Regions from separate parts of the Homo sapiens genome. Here region 2 is linked to region 1. Evidence: promoter capture Hi-C in human tissues and cell types (Jung and others, 2019). All regions are on one chromosome and are shown on one strand. Each heading gives the region's core, a stretch centred on a gene start or on the middle of the fragment in contact. The rest is flanking DNA. Distances are from core to core; before and after follow the strand shown.

What was found. The method cuts DNA at HindIII sites, captures the fragments that hold promoters and counts their contacts. A contact is called where the count stands out against the background at its distance.
Region 2: a fragment that was not itself captured here is called in contact with the fragment with the promoter of VAPA in region 1 in 1 of the 25 tissues and cell types used here (hippocampus).

The regions. Positions count from the first base shown.
Region 1 is chr18:9,909,768-9,916,276 of GRCh38, reverse strand. It overlaps VAPA (VAMP associated protein A), which reads right to left and starts at 2,261. Exons shown (of 6, transcript NM_194434.3): 1 at 1,942-2,261. The coding sequence starts at 2,020. LOC124904245 (a long non-coding RNA gene) reads left to right here and starts at 2,329. Exons shown (of 2, transcript XR_007066284.1): 1 at 2,329-2,565; 2 at 2,944-3,344. RefSeq lists an enhancer at 1,142-1,759 and silencers at 1,277-2,066, 2,277-2,326. The HindIII fragment of the contact is 8,911 bases long and covers 1-6,509 here.
Region 2 is chr18:10,470,989-10,478,227 of GRCh38, reverse strand. It overlaps APCDD1 (APC down-regulated 1), which reads right to left. Exons shown (of 5, transcript NM_153000.5): 3 at 6,167-6,698. Among named protein-coding and RNA genes, the nearest start is that of APCDD1, 20 kb to the right of the region's middle. RefSeq lists a silencer at 422-716. The HindIII fragment of the contact is 3,578 bases long and covers 81-3,658 here.

The DNA of each region.
Region 1 (6,509 bases), core at 1,012-3,511:
ATAGCTGTAATTCTCCAACACCCCCAAAAAAGGAAATATATGAGTAAGTCACTGTGTAGGGCTTTTGCTTGTTTTTTAAACTTGCTTCTCCACTATTATTACTCCCTTACTATAGCAACATAACAACTTCCCTAAGGAGAAAACTTCAAACTCTGTGGACATTTCCTGGCCTAAAACTGGTTGTAAAGGCTTATAAATCCCTAATGGCAATTTACACATAGTTATCCAGTAGAGGAAATGTTCACTGTAAACACAGCCAATCAAAAGATAAAAACGAAATATTAAAAAAAAACACACCATACAGATTTACATTAAATTATCTCAAGATAATGGCTGAGTCAGGACTCTTCATAATTCCTCAAAGGTTTTCCCCCAGCTACAACTACGTAAAAATCACACAACTTACATAAACTTGCAATAAAATACATTCACTGCACCTTAAAACCAAATCCTTACCCAACAAGTAGCTCACTTACACTTCTATTCAAAGAAATTTGTAAACGCACTAAAAAGCTTGCAATGTAGTTATGCAATATTAATCTCATAATTCCAGAATATATTTTAAATTCCTAAACCTGAAGTTTTTCCTATGGAAAACAATGTAGTTGGCTTTCTCTTGGACTCAGCCTTACACAACAATAAAGGATTTAATTTTTTCTTTTAGCACTAGAATTGCTATACACCTCACAAAAATTGTTCTCATTCAACAATTGAAATACAAGACATAGACTTCCAAAACGGGACTCACTTTACACTTAACTAAAGATAGGAAGGAACCTACTTTCTATTAGATGTTCACACTCTTTCAGTATTCCTTAAAAACAAAGAAAAAAAATAAAAATCTGTACATTTTAACTCTCTTTCCTAAAGTACACTACATATTGACAAGGAAACCGACCAAAAGCCCCTGGGATTCTTCCAGGATCACCAAGTCAGACTAAAAAACTTATCACAGGCAGTACTACAAAAACCTACAAAGTTCCAGAGCTGGGTGACACCTTATCAGCCTTCTCAGGATCTGTCGGAAACCGCAAACGTAAAAGCAAAAAAGTCACACGCACTGAAGGTTTCTCAGCAGAGGAGCTCAACTAAAGGGCTAAATAAAAGCACGCGGGTGGCACACTGAAATGTCGTAGAAGGCAGGAAGCCCCGCTACTATGAACCTACAACTCTCCGTTTGCGGCTGACGCATCGCTCCTGCCCGCACGCACCTGGGTCCGTGCCAACAGCACCGGGCAGCCCTCGCCAGGCACCTCCAAGGACTCTCCACCTCCCCGGCGCGTCCTACACCTGACGGCCGAGTTCTAAACCTGGCGGAAAGGTGACAAGCGACGCCCTCCGCGGAACCCGAGGGCCGGCTGCAGCGAGCTCTCCCCGGGCCGGGGCAGGGGTCGGGGGGCGGCTCTCACTCCCAAGGGGTCCCGCGCCGTGCCCTAGCCTCCCCGCGCCGCTGACAGCCGGGAGCGGGCGACAGACGCAGCTTGCGCCACCTCCAGAGCCCACTCCCCGCCGCAGCCCAGAGCGCACGCCCTCGGGTGCCCAGCCGCCCACGCCCCGCCGAAGCACGCCGTCGGCCTCTGGGGCCAAGGACGCGGGCCCAGGCGGACCGCGGCGCGGGCGGGACCGGACGCCCAGGAGGCGCCCCCGCGGGACCGCAAGATGGCGGCGGCGGCGGCGCCAGGGCCGGGCTCCCCTCCGCCTCGCCCCGGCCGGCGCGCGCACCGCAGCGAGGGCGGGCGGGAGGGGATGAAGCGGGCCGGAGCAAGGGGCAGGCCGGCCGAGGTGGCGGCAAGAAAGCAGCCGGGAAAGGGAAGGCGCCGGGGCGTGGGGGAGGGGGCGCTCCCTCGGGCCAGGGCCGCGGACGTGCCCTCCGCGCCCCCCCGCCGACAGCCAGCGGTCCGCGCGCCCCACCCCACCCGGGGGTGTCCCCGTTCTGCCTACCTTTGAATTTGAGGTCTGTGGGCGGATCGAGGACCAGGATCTGCTCGTGCTTCGCCATGGCCCCTGAGGCGGACGCCATCGGAGAGACAGCGCAGAGCGGGGGCGCGCCCGCGGCGGCGGTTTGCTGACTGGGGGCGGGGGACGACGGCGGCGACGGCTCGGCCGAGCTCTAGGACGAGGCCAGGCTCGCGGCTCCCGAGCCCTAACGCCTGCCGCTGTGTCACCGGTTCGGTGGGCCACCCGCTGGGTCAGCAGCTCCGGGTCCCACAACTGACTCAACCCCACACCAGCCGCCACGGCCACGCGCACTTGCGAGCCTCGGCGACCCACGTGACGGCCTCTGCGTGCCTACGTGCGCGCCCCCGGCCGGGAGCTTCTAGCGCTTGTCCCGCCCTCCAGGCCGGCCTAGCGCGGCGCGGGGCTGCTGCGCCTGCGCGCTCGCGGCTTGCCGCGGCCCGGAGCGCAGCCCAGCTGTCAAGGGAACGGGTGTGGAAGGAGGCGGGGCAAAGGTCCGCGGGACCGACGCGATGCGCAGCGCAGGGCTGGAAGCGCAGTCCTCTGTCACCTTGAGCTCCGAGTACGGAACTAGAGAAACTGCTCTGGCAGCGCATCACACTCTTCCAAGTGGGAATGCCCAGTGGAAGGGACAAGTAGTAGTAGGGAAGCGCCCACTCACTACAACTCCCGGCATGCCCCCTGCGGGGCGGGGCCTTCGCCGAGGGCCTGGCCCTTTGCGGCCCTGCGCGGTGCTTGCTGGGAACTGTAGTAACGGCTGTTTGAGGGTGGAAAGGAGAGCTAGGTCTGTTGGAGGCAATGGGGTGGGGTTCGCGGACGCTAATTTTGGCTCTCAGAGCGCGTCTAGTTTGCGCTAAAAAAGAAAAAACTTGAAGACTGAAACGAGGCCCCAATGTTAGAAATATATTAATAAAATCTGCCCTGTGGAGAACAGGCGTGGGGGGATGTGTCCGTTTGCTCTAATTCTATCCAGTCCTCTGTTGGCAGGGCTGCATTCCCCGTGGTATCCAATTCAGCCTCTCCTGCTTCCTGAGTTCTCTCCAGTGATGCAAAATCAGATAAGGAAACACACCTCGTCTAGGAAGCAAGGGGAAATATGACAAAGCACACAGAAACTAGAAATAAAAGTCAAAAATCTACACCATCGAACCCAAATAATCTTCTTCAGTTTTAATGATGGACCCAAACCAAAACAGTTCTCACGTTCACATGTTAGAAACTAACTCCATCTGCATCACTTACGATAGGCTGTAGTAAACTGAACCAAATAAGAAAAATCCCAGCAGCAAACTTGCTGACAAAACTTTAGCCGATTGCCAGGGTAGTCCGGTACAGGAACGTCAAATGAAACCAATGTGCTGTAAATAAACCTTTATTGTATTTTGTGATACGGTTTGAATTTAAATCCCTAGGTAGCGCCACGAAACAAAAGACATATTGATGCTACTGCCATGGAGCAGCACAGTTTGTCTAGAAAATAAACGAGACGAAACAGCAGTCTAGAAGTAGGCACCAAATCCAAGTTTTCATGTGCGATCCAGGTATTAGGGTCCATCCAGGAACAGCCTGCTGGAATTGCTAGCCTGGCATTCACAGAAGATTGTGCCACCCACGAGGAATGTGTTTTCAGCCCTGAAATTCCTGGGAGTGAGAGGTGAAGCCAGCTGGATTTCTGGGTTGGGTGGGGACTTGGAGAACTTTTCTTACAAGAGGATTGTAAAATGCACCAATCAGCACTCTGTAGCTAGCTAGAGTTTTGTAAAATGCACCAATCAGTGCTCTGTAAAAACGCACCTATCAGCACTCTGTAGGTAGCTAGAGGTTTGTAAAATGGACCAATCAGCACTCTGTAAAATGGACCAATCAGCAGGGCATGGGCAGGGACAAATAAGCCAATAAAAACTGGCCACCCCAGCCTGCAGGGGCAGCCTGCTTGGGTCCTTTTCCACATTGTGGAAGCTTTGTTCTTTTGCTCTTCACAATAAATCTTGCTGCTGCTCAGTCTTTGGGTTTGTGCCATCATTTCTTTCTTTCTTTTTTTTTTTTTTTTTTTTTGAGAGGGAGTCTCGCTCTGTCCCCCAGGCTAGAGTGCAGTGGCGTGATCTCAGCTCACTGCAAGCTCCGCCTCCCAGGTTCACGCCATTCTCCTGCCTCAGCCACCTGAGTAGCTGGGACTACAGGCGCCTGTCTCCATGCCCAGCTAATTTTTTTATATTTTTAGTAGAGGTGGGGTTTCACCGTGTTAACCAGGATGGTCTCGATCTCCTGACCTCATGATTCACCCGCCTTGGCCTCCCAAAGTGCTGGGATTACAGGACTGACCTAGTGATCCACCCGCCTTGGCCTCCCAAAGTGTTGGGATTACAGGCATGAGCCACCACGCCTGGCCTGGGTTTGTGCCATCTTTAAGAGCTGTAACATTCACCGTGAAGGTCCGGGGCTTCATTTTTGAAGTCAGCAAGACCAGGAACCCACTGGAAGGAATCAACTCCGGATGCAGGAGGATAGAGTGCTTAAGTAGTTTGAAGCATATTCTAAATTTACCTTTACTGTGATTTCTTCCTATTCACAAAATTTATTTTGAGATGTCAATTATCATTAAGGTAGAATACAAAAAAAATTGTTTATTAAAATGGGGGTTCAAGTTTTGTTTTTGTTTAAGAAAAAAAAAAAGCTAAAAGTGACAATCAGTCCAAAGGATAGTGTCCCACATAGGTTTAGTTGTGAATTGACAACCCTAAAGGCCCTCACAAACTCCAGTTTTTTGCCGGCCTAAGAACTCTCTTCCATGGGCCAGCTAGCCTAGGCTGATCCAGTCCCTCCATAGCAGGAAGCACACTTCTCTTACCGGAAACCATTTGGGAAGCCCCCATGTGCAAATAGTCAACTAGCAGAATAGCATGCGGAGGAAATTCCCAGTAACTCCCCTATGGGAGGATGAATGATCGCCCATTCACTATAGATTTAATGGGAAGCCTGAATTGGATGTATTCTAGTTTCCCAGTCTATATTATTAAGAAATCTCTGCCCATTTGAGTCATCTGTCGTTGGAATCAACTGTTTTTTCACTTCTCAATATTGCTTCAAAAATCATGTAGGTATAGTCTTAAAACATATAAGAATTTAAAATTCTAATATTCTAAGAATATGTGAAACATCTTGGGATTAATCCCCTATTCGTATTTTAGAGCATTAGATTAATAATCACTGAGTCATTTTGAATCTTCTACTTCACATCGAATTGTGCACTATTTAAGTGGTTTGTGCTTTGGTATTTATTAGTACTTTTCTTCCAGCACTACAAACTTTACAAACATCATCACACCCTACTCAGAACAACTTCATGACAGTTGGCAAGTGCCGCTTTTGTTGTTAAATGTGGAAATGAAAACACAGATGACAGCATCTCATCTTAGTAATAGAGCTCAGCTATGGGCAGGGGACATTGCCCAATGTTCTATTCTGTGCATTTTTGCTCTTCCCAAAGCCGCAATAAAATGACAACCCACAATTTAAAATGTCATTGACTTCTCTATTGTTTAACATTTAAGCTAGGAATAATGAACCATGTGACCTATGTTCATTTTGTTTGCTCTTTTTAGATTGGCTAATGCAGCACAGAAAGGCCTTAAAGTATTAGCAAATATATACACTCCAGCATATCAAGCAACCAAATTTTCATGAGTCTAAGAAGTACAAAGGCTTTGAATATTATTTCAACCTATTTGAATCACTAATAGTATTCACCTTTGGACAAGTTCTCTCTTATGGACTTGGCAAAGATTTTTTTTTGTTTTCAGTACGGATAGTATCAAAGTACTTATACCCCTCTACTTCTCCATAGTTAAACATGTTAAACTTTACAGTAGAGGTGCTCTATAATTATGAATTTGTTTATGAGCAATTCTCTGAGTTATTGACTTCAGTGAACATTTAAACAGGCATGCTTTCCATAAATATTGAGGCAGTAAAGTAAAATACAGGCTTTGAATCTAGACTGCTAGGTTCAAGTTCCATTTTCCACTGTGTGATCTTTGCAGCTCACTCCACCTCTCTGTGCCTGTTTTACATCTGTAAAATGAGAAGAAGAAGAATACCTACATTCTGGGTTTGTTACCAGGATTCAATGAGTTCCTACACATGAAGAGCTTATAATAGTGCCTGATTCCAGCACTGTTACCTTATTAATATTAAATGTTAAATTACTGCTGTGTGCCCAGCACTGTGGCAGGTACTGGTGATTAGTCATGAGCTGATAGACATGGTCCCTACCCTTATAGGCTTACATTCAAGAGTGAGAGACAAAAGTGAAATAACTATACAATTATTTCATTTGAATTGTGGTAAACACTAGGAACGAGAGGTCTAGGGTACTGGGAGAGTAACCTGTGGGAACTGAGTTGAGGGTTTGGAGATTATCTCCTTCAGGGAGTAATAAGAAGTATCTCCTGAAGGATATCTGGATACCCAGGAAAGGAGAACAGAATATGCAAAGGCCAGACTGACATGAGCGTGGCTCATTGCAAATTGTAGAAGAAAGGCTGATGTGTTAT
Region 2 (7,239 bases), core at 620-3,119, 560 kb before region 1:
CACTGTCCAGGAAGGGGCCTGGGCCAGGAGGATGAGGGAGAAAAGGAGAAACCAGGCTGCTAATTCCTGAGTCTGTAGTTGGCTATGAAGCAGAGGGGAGCAAAACTCAACCAAACACTTCTGCACCCTGGAGTTCAGCAGGGGCAGCTGGTAGGTCCTTAAGAGCAACATTAGCCTTCTGGAAATGGACTTCCAAGGCAGCTTAGAATCTGAGAAGTGAGCTCACAAAGGCCTTTTTTTGTTTTAGTTAACATTAGAATAATAAAAAAGACCATTTTGCCTCACCCAGCAACTGGAGAAAAAGGACCCTAAGAAGATGGTTCTTTAAGAGAAAAGACTTTAAGAATGGTTTCCGAAAAGAATTTTTATTTCTTTTTACTTGTTTCTTTCTTCCACTCCTATGCATTTTGATTCATTTAAATAATTAAAGTAGACTTATTAAATCTGCTGTAAATCCACTGGGCACTCCTGGCTGGCCCATCCTCTTCCTTTCTCCCCTGGGGCTCAGCAAACACTCCCTGGAGTAGGGACCTCATGCGTACTTTTTAAATGGCCAATTTCCTGCTTTTGCAGGGTTTCCTCATGTCCTCTGAGCTTTCTTGCCTTTTAAGGGATAAAATATTTACCACTTGCATTGTCCCTGACAACAAATATTTCCTGGTCCCCTAACTCCTTAAATAAAGCAACCTTGCATGCCTGTTTATCTGCTGAAATACTCTGGAGTCAAGAAATATAATGAGCTGTTTCTGCAATAGAAGTGTCTATCAGCAGCCTTGTAGCCCAGTGATTGTGACACTGCACACCTCGGCCCAGATAAAAGGTCCACAAAAGCAACCCCTTCAGGGTCAAGACCCCCTCAACCTATCCCAATTGCCAGCTCTGTTTTTTCATAGAATTGTGCAACATTTGCTGCCTTATAGGAAACACCTGGCTCCAGGGAGCAGTCACAGTTTTCTTCTAGGGTTCTCCTTCCTGTAAGACTAGTTCTTGAAACTGTCTTAGGTCATGACTTCTTGAACTTCTGGTTGTCCACCACCTCGTCCATCTCCCATCACCTCTGCAAATCCACACTAGCAGAAAGAAAAGTGGTATGGAATTCTTCCACAAGCACCTGGCTCCTTCTATACCCCAGAGACGCAGCCGCCCACCCACCCAGGAGCCACACCAAGCACATGCTCAGGAGACGTCCCTCCATGCTGGCTCCTGCAGCTAGGCTGAAAAGTCCAGGCTCCAAGACCACCTGACTCAACATCCCCATGGTGTCACTGACATCAGGAAGCTGCACAGGTCACACATCCTCTAAAAAGCCTCTGAGAGGCAAGCTACCTCAAAAACATATGCTGGCTCCAGCCTAGCGGCTCCTAAAGAATTTGAGAGAGAAAGCACAGCATGCTCTTTTTCTGCAGTTCTCAGGTACTCCCAAAGCCCGGTGCTTTTCTCCCTCCCGTGTGTAGCTCCCCTGCTGTACATGTGCTGGGATCGAGTATTTCAGATGCACAGCCTGGGGAAGGCTGTCTGGTTTTCAGACAGCCCCTTTGATTTACGATCCTGTGGTTAAATCAGTGCAGGATTTTGGAGAAAGACCAATTCCATTTGCTTACGAGTCTGATCCTGAGGCTCTGGCATCTCTAACGACCTTGGCAATCATTTGCTTTTAATTACCATTTGATTCCATCCCTGAAAGAATGAGCCTGGCTTCTACCCCTCCAACTGCATAGTTCTGAAGAATCTCGGCAGAGGATTATGGCTGCTCTGACGCTAAACTTGATTCAGGCAAAGCATCTTCTTTCAGGGTTACTTTACGCTGTCTTGACTTTTTTATAATGAAGAGTAGCCAGTTCCATCCTGAATGAACCCTCCCAGCACACCTGAATCTCTTCAAACGTCACTTATTTGCCAAAGGACTCTGGACCTCACAGCAAAGCTGTATAAAGCTTAGAAAAACAAGTTGACTTAAAGTTTCTATTTTTACACGGTGTCCTGTTTCTAGAGGGGCTGAGGCTCGTGGTTTGAAACTCAATTTAGCATTTAAACTAATTTTCAGCTTGGTCTCTATGGACCAGCAATTAGGGAAGTAGAAGAGTTCAAAGGAGGAGGTTCCAGCCTCTCCTGGGCAGGCGTGTACGGTCTTTGAAGACGTTCTCCCAGCCTTTCTTCCTGTCTCCGCTGGCGGCCACAGACAGCTCGGACAACCTGCTGTGGCTGGGCCCGCGTGGGCACACAGTGCCCAGTCTTTCTGGTGCCCGGGTCTGGAAAGACACCAATGGCTGAGTCCATTTTGTTCCTTCTCAGAGCTGTCCTGGGGAAGGATCTGAAAACTTCCTGAAGACTCCGCTGCACACTGCAGGCCAAGAGGTACAAGGCGAGAGACAAGAGAAGAATGGACCCTTTCAGCTACCAGAGCCACTCGGCCTTCCACTGACCCCCCCCCCCCTCAGCCATCTTGCGAGGCAGCTAGGCTGGCTCAGGAAGCCTGGGTCCTCCTTCCAGCTGGGCTGCCACCTGCATCTGTGGCCACAGCATTCCTCTGGGTCTGGGAGTGTTTGCTTGCTTTTTTTTTTTTTTAATCTAAATTTTCTGTGATGACTGTGCTTAGGTAATAGAAGATCACAGCACAAAATGCAACAGGTACCAAAAGTGAAGTCTCTGTCCGACAATCCCAGATAGACAACTCTGTCACTTCCTCTGAGGCAGTCATTAATTTCCTCCATAAATATCTGATTCCTTTGCAAAGAGTCCCTCTTCTTCTCCTTTCATTATTAGTTTTATGCAGATGGTATCATATTATTCACGCTATTTTATAACTTCCTTTTTTCCTACTTAACAATATGTCTCGTGTAGTATCTAAGGTCCTAAAGCTCTTTCCACCTTAATTTTCTGTCATCAAGGAATCAGGCCTGGGATTTAAAGAGTCTATTTCTTAAGAATCTGGGTAAATGTTCCCACAACTGCCTTAGCAGAGCAGGGAGGAGAAAATGGGAGGAAGTGTTTTATGGCTAGGCATCATGAAACACTTTGATGTTCCCTGGTCAGTCGACATTGTCATTTTCATTCCTCTCTGAGCCATTGGCCCAGAAGGGCGACTTACTCTAGGTTAAGAGAGATGGAGCTTTGCATTCAGGCCCTATCCTGATGCCCACAGGATTCTGCACATTAACCCTATTGATTCTTATATTTTTGCCATTTTACAGAAAAGGAAAATGAAGTCTCCAGTAGGTCAGATAACTACCAATGCCACACGGCTGATGACAGCAGAACTGGCTTCCAGGATTGGCTACCGTTTCTGAAGTCCACATACTTGCCAATTTGTCCAAAAGGTGTTAAATTCTAAAAAGGTCAGCTTTACAATTGCTGTCTTTAATTGCCATGCCAATATTTAATAATTTTCACTTGTGGGGCATTTTCCCTCCAGGAGCCACAGACAGGTCTGCAGAGGGACATTGACGGGAATGAAGTGTCCCCTCCTGGAGTACCCCTGGGCGCCAGCCTTAACAATGCTGACTGGGCTTTCAGACTCCATCTGCGGAGCCACACCCAGGAGTGCAACGGGGTAGAGAGGCAGGTAAGAAAATAAACGTGATGATGGTTAATTTTTCCCCCAGTACTAAAAAGAGCAGAAGAGATCAGAGCCCGTGCAGGCGCATGAAGGTGAGGAAAAGGAACCAGAACCTGAGTGGGTGCAAAGGACTAGTCCAAGGTCGGGTTCGGAGCCCACAGCCCGGCCCACGCCCGCCCAGCAAGTTCCCCAGCCGCACCTGCCTCCTCACTCAGACCTCGCACTCAAGGCTCCCCGTGCTTTTTGGTGTTTTGAGGCTCTTTGGTGTCTCTGCTAGAAAGTGGGCAGGCTTTTCCTATTCAGCAGACCTTCACAAAGGCCCCGAGGGAACGGCGGGTTGCGGGGATGCTCCTGGCTAACCCCAGGTTTCTGGATTATCTGTGGGCCGTTTTAATTCATGACATTCACACCTTCCTCCCGTTACCTGAGATCATTTGAAAGATGGCGGCCGGGCGGACGGTGGCTCACGCCTGTAATCCCAGCACTTTGGGAGGCCAAGGCGGGCGGATCACTGGAGGTCGGGAGTTGGAGACCATCCTGGCCAACATGGTGAAACCCCATCTCCACTAAAAATACAAAAATTAGCTGGGCATGGTCGTGGGAGCCTGTAGTTCCAGCTACTTGGAGGCTGAGGCAGGAGAATCACTTGAACCCGGGAGGCGGAGCTTGCAGTGAGCCAAGATGGTGCCACTGCACTCCAGCCTGGGTGACAAGAGCAAAACTCCGTAAAAAAAAAAAAAAAAAAATCCCAGAAAGGTGGCTAGACTATACTCAGAGCGAGCCAAAGGTAGGTATGAAGCCCCTTCTCCTGCTACTATCTCAAACCAAGTGGACCTGGCCAGTATAAAACAAGAGAAATGCTATGCAGCTACAGTGTCCAGTGCCGCCTTTGGGCAGTGCTGCCAACCAGAAAGGCCCCAAAGTATAATTCGAAGCCCATTATTCTTACCCATTTTCCCAAGACACCCACTCAACCCTGACCCAGAAAGCACACCCCAGTCCAGGTATCACCCTATGAGCCGATTCTCCTTCTGATACCTGCCCAGGGGAATCAACATGTTGAAGGGCAGAGTTTTGGTCTCCTTTCCCTGTGTCCCATTCTAGGAAAACCTCTGGGACCCCCTGACAGCTGCAGCAATGGAGCCGGCATCAGAGGCTGCCCTCCCTCTCTGCCCTAATTCATGTTGGCCTCTTCAGTGCATTTGAAACTTACAAGGCAGAATGAAATGAGCCTGGCTCCTGATCTGTGTTGGAACAAACCCCCAAGGGCATCCTGAGCCGGCAGGAATGCTGGGCCTGGGCACATGGGCTGAGCACAGGGCTTCATCTCACACGCGGGGACACAGCCATGAAAAGATTCATCCAGAGGAAGCAGCCTCCACCAGGTGGGCTTTCTCAGTAGCTATTTCATTATTATAATAAGAGCCACTTGCATTGCACAAGCTCACAATAACATAGATTAAAAAAAGATAACACGGAGCAGTCTTTGGCAGAAGTGCCCTGTGATACCTCTATTGGTTATGAGTAGTCTTGGAGGACTAATAAGAAAAAAGATTTTTAAAAAATGAAGAAACCACCAAACAAAAGTTAAGCAGGGCTCCACAGTTACAGAGCCACCGTGCTAGAGAGTGTTCCACGAAGTCAATGGGGACGGCCGGGGAGATACTCCACAGAGACCTGCCCACCGCCCACCCGCAGCAGGCCCGGGTCTGCACGTTCACACTACGCACTGGGCAGAAGCCCACTCCCCTCCTGCCTGGGACTTCACAGGCTCTGCGGGGAGATGGTGGAGGTGATCGAGTTACACATGGACGTGTACTCTAAGCTTGTGGGAAGGAAATGCCTTGTGAATTCCAAATATAATTACTAGAATATCATTCAAGGAAAAGACATTATAAGGTTTAATTGTTTCCTGCTCTCCTTAGTCCCCTCTTCTGATTATGGTGACTTTACATTTTCCTTAGTGAAATGAAAAGAACGTGGGGTATGGAGGAAGGACCTTTGGACTCATGGTCCAGCAGGAAAACTCAGTAGCCGCGTGGCCTGGGCAGGAGCCATAACCCCTGGGACCTCAGCAGGCTGTTCTGCCTAAGAGTGTCGGGACTCACCAGGGTGACTCTGGTGGACAGTCTCCGTGGAGTCTAACACCCCACACAAATCCCACTGTCACCTCCCCTTTCTGTCCCTCCCCGCCTCCTCCAGGGCCTGGGTAGCTGCTATTGTTTAGTATCTTTTCCAGGTGTGGTTATGACATCGCCTTCACACTGTCCTCTTGGAATCACTGAAGAGGTTCCTGGGATGGGAGAGCTGAAAGGAGCCTTAGGAATTTTCTAGAACCATCATCCCATGCCACCACCCACTTCAGTAGGATAACCGAGGTTCCAAGTCACAGAGCAAGTTGGTGGCAGACCCAGGTCTCCTGACTGGCTAAAGCACCCTCAGCCCCAGCCTTTCCCATCTCCTCCCACCTCGCAGCAGCCCCACCTTGGCCTGCCCCGCCATGATGCAGAATTCCCCCTTTCAAGGGTGCCCTAGAGCCCCCATGGCAAGCCTTTAAGAAGGATCACCCACTTTACTCAATAAAGAGGAGAACACAGAGCTCTGAGGTACCTTGGCATTCTGCAGAGGGGGCTGGTAACTGGAGGGCCGGTAGAACATCCTCTGGGTGGCATCAGTGTGAATGTCACCAAGGAAGAGCTCCTCGACCAGGTGGTCGAGGTTGTGGTGAAGGTACTGCTTCTCCACCCGGATGAGCTGAAGTTCATGCATGGCAAAGTTCACGGCCTTGGTGCACTCACAGCCGTTCTCCTCTCGCCAGAGGTCATAGGCCACGTCCTGCACCCAGGGACCCCCGTCTGCGAGGAAGCCCGGGCATGTGCGGTTCACCTGCTGGCCGAGCTTCTCGGCCACCGCCTCTGTGTGGCAGATCACCTGGACGTTGTGCAGCTGGTAGTCGGCTTCCGTGCCCCCTCGGATGATCCAGGAGGCCTGGCGGAGGCGGATCTTGCCCCGGATGATGAGAGTATAAGTGGGATTTGTGCACCGGTTGCTGCCATAATAAAATTGGTAGGCCTTGAAGGTGTTATTGTGGTAGAATCTGTAGGACCTTGTGATGAACTCTGGGCCTGACCTTACTTCACAGCTGGGCAAGAAAAGGGGAAGAAGAGACCTTTGTAAGCCTGAAGGTATGGGAAAGAGATTCATTATAGTATTAAGAAATTACAGAAATAATAATAAAGTGCTGACGATGGGCCAGACTCTGTTGTCAGCCCTTTATAGATACCAACTCATTGACTCCTCACAACAACCTAGGAGTTAGGTATTATCATCACCCAGGTTTTACAGGTGGGGAAACTGAGGTTAGGGAACATGCCCAAGAGCACATGACCAGCAAGTATCAGAGCCAGTCCATGAATCCAGGCAGCCTGGCTCTGATGCTGTGCTCCTAATCACTCTGCCTCAGCCAGCCTTCCACTCGCTTCACGAGCAGGCCAGGAGGGCAAACACCTGCTGCCCTGTGCAGGCATTTCTTTCTGGATAAGGAGGATGAGTGCTGTGCTGGCCTATAAAAGAAGTTCCCTTACGCTAGTTCAAAAACGGTCGACTTCCTGAACACTTTTATTTTATGGACCTTGTCTACAGCAGGCAGGTGCAAAATGTCTGTCATCCTGAGACAGAATCTA